4 separate regions of the Homo sapiens genome follow, and all the other regions are linked to region 1. Evidence: promoter capture Hi-C in 16 types of primary human blood cells and fetal thymus (Javierre and others, 2016). All regions are on one chromosome and are shown on one strand. Each heading gives the region's core, a stretch centred on a gene start or on the middle of the fragment in contact. The rest is flanking DNA. Distances are from core to core; before and after follow the strand shown.

Region 1 (3,568 bases), core at 253-2,752:
GTAAACACACAAAACATTCCCCATTAAAGTGACCATATGTAATAAATTATGATCAATGTTTTGGCTTATCTAGAAGTTACTATAATATTTTGTGGATGGAAGTAATTGATCCAAGGGCCCCAAGTAATATTAGTTAATTTGCTGTAACTTATTATTAAATGAAGTTACGCTGCACCCTAATTCCTGATGTACAGAAACTGATAATATTTGTTGTTTTAAGCTGGGGTAAATTTGGGGGTAATTTGTTACCCAGCAATAGACAACTAATGAAGTACCTCATCAGACATATTGTCAGGTTAATTGGCTAAAGATGAATTTCTGACCCAATATGAAAAAAATAATAAAACTTATGCATTCTTTATTCTGAAACCTACTCTGTTTCACATATCATTTTCGTGAAGGGTAGAGTTGAGAAGTGTGTAGAGCTCCTACCTCAGAAATACATTACTTCAAACATTAAAAGAAGGAAGAGGAAAGCTGAAATAGAAAACATAAATTGTCTTCACTTTACCGTAATAAAAATCATGATATATTCATTTGTGGATATACACCTAGGAGCCTTGAAAATGAATATTTTACTTGTAAAACAAGTAGAATCAATTATTTTATTAGTAAATTCATACAGAACCTAAAAATAAAACTAAAAAAATTAAATGACTGAGGATTGGGATCCATTTATGTGATTTTGCCAAATAAATATTGAGAACCTTCTACGTAAGAGATTAGAACCCAGTCGCTGAGAAACAAATAAAAGACAAGTTTGACAAGTTTTATAACCCAAGTTTGACTACTGTAGCAGCTAGCAATCCATCGTGATCTTAACTATACTTGTGTTTGCATTCATATTACTGGAAAGTGGTAAAGAACCAAAAACTGTCTAGGAACCAAAATAACACTCGACCCGAAAACCAACACTTGGACCTGAAGAAAGTAACCCTTGTCATTTCTCAGGTTTATTTCACAATGACGCTGGGTTACTACTTGGAGTCCTAAACCGAACTACACCCCAATGGCCTAGAAACAGAAGGAACACACCCAGTTCCGCCTCCTGACAGTGATTCCTCACTTTAATGAGCCACCACTACTGTCACTCAAGATGCTTCGCACTGTCATTGGTCGCAAACTCTTGCTGGTCGGCCAGTTTCGGCCAACTGGCAAGCACTGGTTGTCTTTATTTTCGAGAAAAGTGAAGGTGAACAGGGAAAAGAGACAAGAGATCTAAAATATCTAGGTTGACTCCTGTACCTGAGCGACCTGCGATCTCCACCGCCGCCGCGACGAATTGGCCTCTGGGCGGGGACTTTTAGCCAAAAGGAAAATGGCTCAGCCGGGAACTGGTGCCCAGGCCATGGAGAAGCTGATTCAAACTTTACTTGTCCACACCGGTAGAGGTGACCGCGATGAGAATACCAGAAACAGCACTACGACCCTCAGAACTCAGGGTACCTCCAGCTGCAGGGGCCAGAACTGCCGACTATCCCAATTTTGACGTTTCCTATTGTTGCCGGAAGTGACGTTAGGCTCCGACTCTTAACGGAGACGCATTTTTATTTCTGTTGTTTACGATTCGCTATAGATTCCTTGTTTCTCACTTCGTAGCACGAGCCACTCTGACCATCAAGATCAGAAAAACTTCTCAGCTGCAAGTTAGAAGTGGACTGGCCATTGAGGAGGCTCTCAGCGGAGTCGCTCTTCACAGGAGTCTTGAACGCGGTGTGGAATCGGCAGCGAGGAATCCTGGAGCACAGAGAAGCTCCCAGCTTTGAAGGTCTTGCGGTGGTGCGTGGCGGGCAGGAACCCACAATTCCAAATACAAACGGTCGGCGCGAGAAGCGCTTCTGGGCGCAGGCGCCTGGCTGTAGCGACTGGTTGCGGGAGGCTGGACTCTGGTGACTGTGTATGGTTGCATATGCTCCGTTTTCCTCTCCCTGTCGTGCTGGGCCTTTGAAACCGGCTTCTTTGCTGGTGGCTGCTTGGTGAGCCCCGAGGAGACGGCAAGGCTGCGCCTGGTATTGGGCGGAGGTCGCCTCTCTCCGCCGTCCTTACAGAGACCCCGGGCGGAGACGAATGACCAGATCCGCCTTTTCATTCTTTTAAATCAAATGGCGGGAGGGGAGCCTTGCTTATATACCCAACTAGTATATGCTTTTAGTCACAACGAAGTGGGAAGTATCGTGGTAGCTCATCCTATCAGAATTAGGTTGTGACTTAGGGTTGGAAAGTTATAGGCTTACTGATTCCTATTGGATCCTCTGGGGTGAGGATACAAACGGCTCCTGACTATAAGGAAGACAGGACAGCAGTTCGTGTTTTCCTTGTTGGCATTTCCCCAGCTTTTCAAATATTTCTCCACCTTTATTGAAGGCTACAGATTTTTCCCTCACTGTAACAAGTTAATCTTGAAGTTGTTATTCTCTTTTACTCTGGAATTATGGCCATGCTAGACTGTTTTTTTCCCGAATTATCTGCAGACCTTTTAATTTTATGTGTGAACACAGCAGTCCCGTTGAACTCTTTACTTGTCCCTTACTCCTCCCCACTCCCGCCCAGCTTTCTCGATGCTTTGCCTTTCTCAGACCTTTCTCCTATCTCTTAGAGAAGTATTTCCCTAATATCTTTTGCAGTTTCATAAACTGTTTTTCTCATCTTTACTTTTTTGTTTTTGATACGTGTTTTTAGATAATATCGAGCATTATGTGCTATGTCACAAACTCTTAGCCATTGACTGTTATTAGAGTCAGTGTAGTTGCTTCATTCTAAACAAAAATCACTCTGGTCCAGTGACATTCTATTGGGAGGCATTGTTTTAATGACCTCTAACAGCAATGAGATTGAGCGATGTTGAAAATCCTAAACTGCTAGAGTACACTATTTTCACAACCTCTCCCACAAGTTCAATTGCGCAGATCTGACTTGTAGACAAGGAAGGAAGCTAGAAAGGAATATTGAGAGCTTCTTTATTATTGAATCTATGCTGCAAGCTGAGTGGTATCTCCTTTTTTCCTTAGTTTGCCTTTGATCAGTGCTATAAGTTGAAAATGTTAAATTTTTAAAAGTATTTTTCATTAATGAAAGTAAGGTGTTAAAATGTACATAAGTAATAGATTGGCTTCTTTTAATGTCTTGTTTTTAAGGCTTTTGAATTTTATAGTAGACTTAGTAAAGCCCTTTGTGAGAATGTAGAGCAGTAGCTGTAATTTTATTCTGTGATAATCCCAATTTTAAATCCCTTTATTTTTCTGTCTCCTATCACTTACCTCGTTCACGAGCTCTGCTTGTATTACTCTTCAAAATATTTATTCACTGGTACTGAAGAGAGACATAACTTTGTTGTCAGAAATTCCATTATCAGAGGTAGAAATCATGTAAGAGACACTGAAATGTTTTCCAAAATGTCAGAAAAAGGAAAGGTGAGAAGATATCATAAAGTGTTACGTAAAACAGAATTACTTGCACTGGGAAAATGGAATATACATCTGGAAGGACTAAAGGAAGTCTGGAAAGACATAGAATTTACATTAAAGTTACTGGGAAGAAGGTATCCCTAGAAGAATTGTGTTACGATAGA
Region 2 (3,568 bases), core at 539-3,038, 5.3 Mb before region 1:
GAATCGCACCCACACCAAAACCTACCCTACCTGTTCCTCCCCCAGGTTGCTGTAGAAATGGACCTCTACCCGCCCAGATGTTACCATTCATCGCGAAGGGTGTCGTGAAGATGAATGCCCTGTCGAACATCATCCAGCAGGAGGTCAAGGAATTTTAACTGAATGATTGAATAGTCTTGCAAGATCTATGAAACAAGCTTCGGCTGCTGTAGAGAAACAAAAATGGGTTCCTGCAATTCTAAATAAGATGTACTGGGTGCTCTGAGAGTTAATAAGCTAAAAAATTCAATGTTTGTTACAATTATAGTGTAAACAGAAAGCATTTCTGATACAATATTATTTTACTAGATTCAGAAAAGTATGAGCCATGGTCCCTACCACTAAAAAAACTACAACCCAGAACTACAGGACTAATACACATGAAACACTAGGAGGTATCCAAAATCATACTTAGTAAAATGCAAAATTATATTAACACAAGAGCTCCGAGAAAATGGAGATCAGTGAAGAATGAAGGGGTGCATGGAAAAGCTGGATTTGAGGGCTGGATGAGGTTTGAAAAAAGGAAAACAAGAGCAAAAAGTCTATAAATAAGCAAGTTGAGCATTAATTTAAATTTGTTATTCCTATTCCATTTAGATCCAAAAAAAGATTTGAAATGGTTTGCAAAAATACATGAGTATTTGAATTTAAAAGGCAAAGAGGACCACTGCCCCTTCTCCCACAAGGCCAGAACAATAAATTAGGTCAGTGGAAAAAATACGAATAAAGTCATGCTATAAGAATCTATTTAGTATTAAAGAAGAGATTCATAAACTTAGAGTTTCCTGCCAGCGAAAGCAACAAAGGAAATATAATTACAAGTGGTAATTTCTGTAAGAAATCAGCCTCCTGGTTATGCAGCAGAGAAGCCTGAGCAAAACTCCCTCCTCATAGGTCCTCCTAAATGGCACACTAAGCATTGTAGTAGACAGTGAGCTTCATGAAAAGAAAAAGAGATTGTAAGGCTGTTTTCATAGCATCTATTAGACTTTATTAAAAGCAAATACAATAGGAAGTTAAACAATATAAGCAAACAGTCACACATAAAAATTGTGTCTTTGAAACAATATATGTTTGAAACAATGAGGAAACAAGCCTGAGGAAATTTGGGATGGTGCTATATTATAGTCAGCTTTAAAGTCAGGTGCCAAGCATTAAACAGGCCTTTAACTGCAGAAGTAATAAGATAAGAGCTGCATTTAAGAACTATTAGCAGGCCAGGCGTGGTGGCTCATGCCTGTAATCCCAGCACTTTGGGAGGCTGAGACAGGAGGATTGCTTGAGTCTAGAAGTTCAAAACCAACCCAGGAAACACAGCAAGACCCCCACCCCCCCGACCCCCATCTCTACAGAAAATACAAAAAAAAATTAGCTGGACATGGTGGCCTACCTGTGGTCCCAGCTACTCGGGAGGCTGAGTTGGGAGGATCATGTAAGTCCAGGAGGTCAAGGCTGCAGTGAGCCATGATTGCACCACTGCAGTCCAGCCTGCATGACACAGCAGGACCCTGTCTCAAAATAACAGTGTTCTAAAAAACAAACAAACAGTTTCCCAGTGATGTAAAAATGGGTCAGATCAAATTTGTCTATTCACTTTCCTACTATACACTATGCAATCTTGGAAAGAAAAAACTGTTTTACATAAATTACCAATATAAGGGTCAGCCTAAATGCCAACTGTATTCCTGCACCTTAGGTCAAACCAGAGAGGTTTATCTTTTGAACAGTTCTCTCCATTTGCTAGGAAAATGATTATTTTTTTTTCTACACATTGTTATTTTAGCAAAAAAAAATGGTTTTTAGATCTATGCCATCTATCATGAAGATCACTAACACATGATATGAGGTGACATTCAGAATTCTGAAAACCTTCCAACTTTTCTCACTGTATATATACTGTAAATGGATAAGCTGGGCTTTTTATTCAACACATACCTCAGGTTAAACCTCAAGGTTATTATTTATTTTTTTTCCCTCTTAATACAATATCACCACTATCCCGGGTGAGAATACATCTATCACAGCACATCACCCATTAGCTGAGAAGGTTACAGCAGGGGAAGTTTCTCTGTAAGCCCCTGATAGTGAAGTGAGGATCTGTAAATTAAACTGGGTCTCCCCTACCCAGCAGGACATTGAAGGAAGCCATTAGAATGACCCACCTTTAGTCTTTCCTTCTCACTAAACATGCCACTTTTGTGGTAATATTTTAACCATATGTTATACTTTAACTTAAATCCACATAGGATATATTTTCTCTTGGCTCCCACAATCGAAGGAGAAAATTCCTTATGTATAAGGACTGTTATACAAATTTTTAAATATGCATACCTAGTATTACTTTTCTGATTACAAAAGGAATACCATTTAATTGCTAACAGTTAGAAAACATAAACTTTTTAAAGTAAATAAAAACTCATTGAAAGCATTGTACACTTTAAGCGTGTGAATTGTATCGTATGCAAATTATATCCCAATGGAACTGTTATTGAAAAAGATGTAATTTAAAGCCTACTGCCCTGTTATACGAAATTTGAATCTGCAACTAATTATAAGGGGGTTGTACCTTTCATGAATATTTTTTTCATACGTCAAGATTTATAATGCCCAAGATTCCAAATATGCAGGAAAATTTATTTATAAGAAATTTATGAATTATGATTGAATATTCATTGAGAATCCTCTTTACAAATGCACCATACTAAGCACATCCAGCTTATCAGATCCATAATTGAAGCATAACCCTTCCTGCCAGCAAGCAGTCTCCCAGGATTCTTCAGGCAGTGATGATAATCTGCACGACCCAAATTGCATGTGGCCAGCTAACTTCTCCATACAGACCATGCTCTTCTTTCAAGAAGAAAGATTAGAAAGCTGCCTTAGTGTGGCTGCACAGATATAACTTTTATGATTAAAAAGCATGTTGATTTCCTCATTGGCATTCTTGTATCCAATCTGCTGGGTAATCTAAATTGTAAGGAATGTACTTTTTATCACTTACAAAAGTTTATTTCATTTTGATTGGGAACAAAAAATGTGGCCCATGAGCTTGTTATTTTGTTGAATTGGCGTTTATGCCTCTGAGGCTGCCCACCGAGACCTAAACCTGGCACTCAGTTGCCTAAGGCAGAAGCATGGAGTTTATTCCTTCCCTCTCTCAACATCCCACATCCAATCAGTCACAAAGTCCTGCTGATTCTACTCCCTAAATACCATTCCAACTTCTACACATCCATGCTTCTCCAAACACTGTCTTCTCAACCTCGAATGCTCCCACTGCTTTCCCTGGTAACATCTGATTTATCATTCAAAATGTGGCTCAAACATCTCTTGCAATGGAAGCTTCTCCTGACCCAAAGGAGGACATGCTGATGTCCTTCTTTACCCGTCCTCTTACCTTGTATGTGTCTTCAAGTCTGTATTTCATGGAGTTACTGTGACGTCAGAATCCACATAATTTTAGGAAGATAGTGAATAGATTCTCAAGGATCTGTGAACCTACCAAGCTGAATACAAAATCTCATGT
Region 3 (3,177 bases), core at 387-2,886, 6.0 Mb before region 1:
TGGTATTGTGATTGGCTTTGCACTTTGAAAAGATTAGTCCAGCTACAATATAGAGAATAAACAGGATGGGAGTAAGCTTCTTAGTAGAGCAGAAAGAAAGTTACTGTGCAGGAGAGTAATGATGATAATTTGATGTAATATAGTTTGATGGTAGCTGAGATAATAAAGCTGGAGAGATGTGGACTCACTTGAAGGACATTTAGGAGATGAGCTTGACATAATTTGGAACTGGACTGGATGTGGATGGACAAGAGAGGAAAGGGGGTTGTCAAGGATGACACAAGTTTCTAGCTCAAGTAACAGGATGGATGACTAGGCCATTCCCTGGGCTGGGAATTTTAGAACAAGGCTACGTGTCAGGAAAAGATTATGGCGGCATTTGTGAACCACCTGAATTTGACTTGCTTTCAAGATTCCCCATAAGCCATGATATGTAAGTAGTAAAATATACAAGTCTAGAGGACAAATACAAAGTCTGGACTAGATTTGAAGAGGTAAGTCATCTGAGTATTAACGGTAAATGAGGCCATTGGTGTAGATGAGCTTGCTTGGACAGGGAGAGACAGCATCATGGGAGAAGAGTACTAAAAACCCACATTTGAAGATACTAATACTTAATATATCAAGAGAGGAGGAAGAATCCACAAAGGTAATAGAGAAGAAAATACTAAAGAGGTAGATGAAAATGCACTTGAGCATTTTGTCATGGACACTAAATATTGAGACACTTGCCATTCAATATGTTAGGGCTATGAAACAGATAGGTAGATACACACATGATTTATGGATAGATAGTAGATAGATTGATTGATATAGATAGATATAGATGATGGATACACAGATAGATAGATAGATAGATATGATAGAGAGAGAGAGATTCCTATTCCATGATAGTAAGGAACATATAATGGTGATGCACATGCTGATATTAAATATTACAATAATAATGCAAGGAAGTATATGACTGTAATGACAAATAAGTTTAAAGAAAAATGGAATTACTGTGGGCTGGGGAGTTTAGGGACCCTTAATGGAGACACGAGCGTAAGTATGGTCTCTCACTCACTCAGTTACTATCTTATTTCAAAGATTATAGAGTATCTACACTTTACAAAACATTGTACTTGCTGAAACATATGCAAATATGCATGAAGCATGATTCTCTCCTTGTACAACCCAGTGTAAGTTGAAAGATAACTAAGTGACACACTACATCTAATTTGCTGTGTTCTAGCAGAAATGGCACAGGAAGCCATTAGAGAATTGAGAGGGAGTTCCTAAATCAGAATGAAGGGATCAGGGTCCTGTGTTCTGAGGTTTCAAGAACAGGTTGAAAAGATGATGAAGACTTATGAAAGCATGTTGGGGAAAGTGAGAGATATAGAGAATTACTTTTCAGGTAGCAAAATCAGCATCAGTTTAATGCATAAAGTTGTGAAACTACATGACAAGTTTGAGATCCTATGGGTTGTTCTACATGGCATAGGACAGGGTGACTCATTGGAGATGACATTGGAAAGGTAGGTTAGAACCAGACTATAATGGGTCTTGTGCCCAGGTCAGGAGATTAGGTATTTTCAAAAAACTCTCTGTCACCCATTTCATGCAATCCTCCACCTCACTAACTGTGCATTGGCCATACTATCTTTCTTCAACTCTCCAAATTGTACCAAGCTCAAATGGAAAAAAATGGGTCAGTGAGAACTGAACAGGCAAGAGAGAATTAACCCCAAGTATATTACAGAAAACTTCAGAAAGGATAGCATCAGATTCTACAAGATGAAATAAGTTAATTTACAGGTTCCCAGATGTTCACGATGCTCTTAGAGTCTCAGGAATTTTTTTATGCCACTCCTAGGACAAAATCAATAGCTAACCGTTTCATTTATTAAGTAGTTAGATACAAACAAATTAATAACTATTTATGTCCTGACAACTTAGAAATTGTTTTAAGAAATAATATACATAGATTAAAAGGAATAATATAGTTTTTATAATGAAATATAACTATGACTGAGACGTGAGTGCCCGTTAAACACTGTGAAACTTTCAGCAATAGCTATGGTGACAAAATAAAACTGCGTTAATGGGCAATCCCTCCTTAATTTGACAATCAAGGGATTCCGTAGCCTGCCTATGGGAAGTTTGAGATCCTACAGGTTGCTCTGCATGACATAGGACAGGGTATGCAAGACAATGCGTGTAAAGCCTAATAGGCTTTCCTCTTACATGCCCTATACTAAAGTAGGCTTACACACCCTAGGCTTTCCTCTTATATACCCTATACTAGAGCTACCCTATTAACCTCTGCCCCAACACATGCACGCCCTAACACCTAAACAGAATTCACAGTCATTATCCCCACTTCTCTGTCATTTAAGGGAGAGACATGCTAGAGATCCAGCCACCTGTAGTAACTAATGATTGAACACTCACACACACACACACACACACAAATTAGTACCAATAGACATTTGAGGCACACAAAAAAAGCAAAAATAAGAAACCAGATGAATAAGCATGATGCAGAGACAGAAAAGACCTTCAAAATTTTCTAATTACTGCTTTCAAAGAATTAAAAATATTTCTCATAAAATAGTAACAGGCTGCTAGAGAGAGAGAAAGAGAAAAAGAAAGCATGCAAGTATTCGTACACATTTAAAACATAATTTTACAAGGAAGAAAGTCATTGCAGAACAATAAAATGAGCATGCTGGAATTTTTAGTCAGTGATCTGTAGGGTTAAAGTCCAGGAAATTTTGTAAAGGATAAAAGTAAAAGACAAAGAGATGAAAAAATTCTAAAAATACTAAAATATCCAGGAATAAGTCAATAAGCTCTTTCTCCCCCTACTAATATTTCTAGTAGGAGATAACTAAGATTCCAAAATGAGTGGGGATAAAAATAATCAAAGATATATACTTAAACTAATATACTAATATTAGACTAGAACTAAAGAACAACATAATGTGTTTAGATTGAAATGTTTCTCTAACTACTGAGTAGAAATAATGACAAAAGAGAAAACTACGCCTAGGCACAACTTGTTAAAATTGCAGAGCTCCAAGAATAAAGAGAAAGACAGAAAAGGTACAAAGAAATGGAAGTCAGGCCATATGAGAACTGGTTTAAGAAATGAACACTGTTGGCCGACTACTTGCATTTTAATCTTGGTTC
Region 4 (3,372 bases), core at 559-3,058, 5.8 Mb before region 1:
ACAAATTAGAGATCTTAAAAAACAGAGATACATATTGTGTTCACTAACTGAAAGACTATATTGGTCTACAAATTTAATGAATATCATTAAAATCCCATCGTTCTTTTTAAATAGAAATTGGCAAGCTGATTCTAAAATTCGTGTGGAAATGCAGAGAACCTAGAATAGCCAAAGTTAAACAAAGAAGAACAAAGTGGGCTTCAAGATTTACTATAAAATTACACAAATCAGGACATTGTGGTACTGGTAATTTGTTAAATCCTTTGATGGAACATAGTAGAAAGCCCAGAAATGGACCTACACATATATAATCATTTGATTTTTTGATGAAGAAACCAAAGCAATCCACTGGTGGAAGAAAAATGTTCTCAACAATGGATGCTGGAACAAATCAACCTCAATCCCCCATTCACACCACAAACACACAAAAATTAATTCAAGAAATATCATAGACCAAAATGCAAAAGCTGAAACTACATACTTCTAGAATTATTAATAAATATAGGAAAATATCTTTGTGACTAAGAGATAGGCAATGATTCTTATCAGGATACAGGCACAATAACCATTAAAGAATAATAAGTTAGATTTCACCAAAATTAAAATATCTGGTCATCCAAAGATAGTACTAAGAAAACGAAGTGGCAGCCGGGCACGGTGGCTGATGCCTGTAATCCCAGCACTTTGGGAGGCAGAGGCGGGTAGATCACGAGGTCCGGAGATTGAGACCATCCTGCTAACACGATGAAACCCCATGTCTACTAAAAATACAAAAAAATTAGCCGGGCATGGTAGTGCATGCCTGTAGTTCCAAGTACTTAGGAGGCTGAGGCAGGAGAATGGCATGAACCCGGGAGGCAGAGGTTGCAGTGAGCCAAGATTGCGCCACTGCACTCCAGCCTACGTGACAGAGCGAGACTCTGTCTCAAAATGAAGTGACAAGCCACAGACTGGGAAAATATATTTGCAATAATATACATGACAAGAGGTTGTATACAGAATATATCAAGAACTACTACAACTCAATATTAAAAAGATAAAGAACCCAATTTAAAATGGTCAAAAGATACGAGCAGATGCTTCACAAGTCATAGTATACAAATGAACAATAAGCACTTGAAAAAGTAGGCAACATCATTAGCCATTTGATAAATACCAATTAAAACACAGGGACATAACACTACACATCCACCAGAATGGCTGGACTGACCAAATACAAATGTTTGCAACTACACAGGGCACCAGAACTGTTATTCATTGCTGGAGTGAGTGTAAAGGGGCACAACTACCTTAGGAAAAGCTTTGGCAGTTTTATAAAACATATATTTCAACCACAGATACATGCACAAGGAAAATAAAAACTTACGTCCACACGAAGACTTGCATGTGAATGCACATAGTAGCTTTATTCATCTAGGCAAGATATTGAAAGAGATTGCTCAACAGGAAAGTGTCCACTCAACAAGAAAATGGGTAAACAAACCGTGGCACATTTCTACAATAAAACCTTACTCAAAAGTGATAAAAGGAACAAAATACCACTGCACACAACAAAATGGATGCCTCTCAAAAATATTATGTTGAATGAAAGGTTTATACAAAGAGTTCATACTGTAAAATTCTATTTATTAAAAGTTCTAGAACTTTGGGAGACCAAGGCGGGTGGATTGCCTCAGGTCAGGTGTTCGACACCAGCCTGACCAATATGATGAAACCCTGTCTCTACTAAAAATACAAAAATTAGCTGAGCATGGTGGCACGCGCCTGTAATCCCAGCTACTTGGGAGGCTGAGAGAGTAGAATCACTTGAACCTAGGAGGTGGAGGTTGCAGTGAGCCGAGATCACGGCATTGCACTTCAGCCTGTGCAAAAAGAGCGAAACTCCATCTAAAAAAAAAAAAAGAAAGTTCTACAACAGGCAAAACTCAAGAAGGCAATAGAAAGGATTTAAACAGTGGTTGCTTCTAGGGGATGGGATGAGGATGGACTGGGCAGGGGCATGAGAAGACGTATTGTGGAACAAGAGTTTGGGTTACACGTGCATGCGTGTGTCAAAACTCAATGTACTGGTAAATACTATGCACGTGCCAAAGATCGTTAAATGGCATTAGGTTGGAGCAAAACTTTTTGTAACACATTTAAGATCTGTGCATTTTATTTCATGTAAATTTTACCATCAAAAAAACCTGCAAATAAGTACCGAACTCTAGTTAATGGCATGTATGATGAAGTGTTTCAGAGTTAAATGTAATGTCTACAACTATTTTGAAACGTACCCCCAAAATAAAAGGATTGACAGGTGAATAAAGGCATGGATAAGCTTACAGATATATGAAGAAGTAAGTAAAATAAAATGTAATTGTAGGATTTAGATGGTGGGATATAGATATTTGCTCTACAACCTTTCAACTTACCTGTATTTGAAATTTTATAATAAAATATTGAAACTTAAAGAATGGGCTTGCTGGTGCTTACCACAGGCTGAATTCTTACACTGACTATATAGAAAAGGAGGTAGAGTAAACCTACCCAATATACCCCTCAGCCCAGGCTCTGTGCCTGATCTATATTGTGAATGTGGGAACATAGAGTTGAGGGAAAAAAATTTAATAAAATAAAAAATAAAGAATGGTTATCTCTGAGTAGTGAAATTATGGGTAATTTTTTCTTTTGTTAACCTGTCTTTTTATATTTTCTATGATGACATGCTTCATTTTAGGTCAAAGGCTCTTTAGGTTAAGACATTTCAGTTATAGTCTTCAAAGGACTAAAACGACATCAATCATCATATATTACCTTAAAGAAAACTATGGTGAATTGTCCTCCGTTACTCAGAAGATCCACAAGATAGCATTCAACCAGATAGAAAAAGTGGAGATTCTGTCCCCACTTGAATGATTTTACACCCAGGCATGTGACAAGCAAGGAATCTCCATCAATCACAAAAAAATTAGATTCCACAAAATCATTTAATATGCTGGAATACCTAAAATAAAAATCAAAGAGAATAAAAATCACAGATGTTTCACAGAGACTTTGTTGCTGTTGTTGTTACTATTATTGCATAAGCTACTGTTTGTTGAGTACCTCATGCCAGTCCATGATGCCTTTTCAAATACCTCATTTAAGCAACTGTCCTTTATAAGAAGGAGATAGCACAATTACTATTTTATTAAAATAAAATTAGGCTCAGAGAGGCAAAGGAAATTATCCAATGCTAAATGGCAGAGCCAGGATTTGAACTTGAGAATATGATTCTAAAGGCTGTTATTCTGGATAAGGACATATATAACTCCCAGCTCCATGAATCTGATTGTTTTAGGAAACAATCTGTTCAGTGACAGCTAAGACAACTATAGGAAGAAGAGTGCG

What was found. Contacts are between HindIII fragments. The CHiCAGO score rates a contact against its expected background, and 5 or more counts as called.
Region 2: a contact is called between a fragment that was not itself captured here and the fragment with the promoter of FBXO8 in region 1, in 7 of 17 cell types (total CD4 T cells, non-activated CD4 T cells, activated CD4 T cells and 4 more). The highest score is 14.8, in total CD4 T cells.
Region 3: a fragment that was not itself captured here is called in contact with the fragment with the promoter of FBXO8 in region 1 in 1 of 17 cell types (non-activated CD4 T cells); the score reaches 5.6 in non-activated CD4 T cells.
Region 4: a contact is called between a fragment that was not itself captured here and the fragment with the promoter of FBXO8 in region 1, in 1 of 17 cell types (total CD4 T cells). The highest score is 6.4, in total CD4 T cells.

Annotation. Positions count from the first base shown.
Region 1 is chr4:174,282,165-174,285,732 of GRCh38, forward strand. FBXO8 (F-box protein 8) reads right to left here and starts at 1,503. Exons shown (of 6, transcript NM_012180.3): 1 at 1,246-1,503. It overlaps CEP44 (centrosomal protein 44), which reads left to right and starts at 1,747. Exons shown (of 12, transcript NM_001040157.3): 1 at 1,747-1,779. RefSeq lists an enhancer at 1,698-1,947 and a silencer at 1,712-1,979. The HindIII fragment of the contact is 4,999 bases long and covers 1-3,568 here.
Region 2 is chr4:169,010,739-169,014,306 of GRCh38, forward strand. CBR4-DT (CBR4 divergent transcript) reads left to right here. Exons shown (of 2, transcript NR_185919.1): 2 at 46-322. Among named protein-coding and RNA genes, the nearest start is that of CBR4-DT, 2.1 kb to the left of the region's middle. The HindIII fragment of the contact is 3,187 bases long and covers 196-3,382 here.
Region 3 is chr4:168,311,889-168,315,065 of GRCh38, forward strand. All of the region lies in intron 1 of DDX60 (DExD/H-box helicase 60), which reads right to left. Among named protein-coding and RNA genes, the nearest start is that of DDX60, 5.3 kb to the right of the region's middle. The HindIII fragment of the contact is 3,125 bases long and covers 75-3,177 here.
Region 4 is chr4:168,468,951-168,472,322 of GRCh38, forward strand. It overlaps DDX60L (DExD/H-box 60 like), which reads right to left. Exons shown (of 38, transcript NM_001012967.3): 4 at 2,797-2,986. LOC124900181 (small nucleolar RNA SNORA51) reads left to right here and starts at 2,459; the gene lies at 2,459-2,589. The HindIII fragment of the contact is 1,020 bases long and covers 1,299-2,318 here.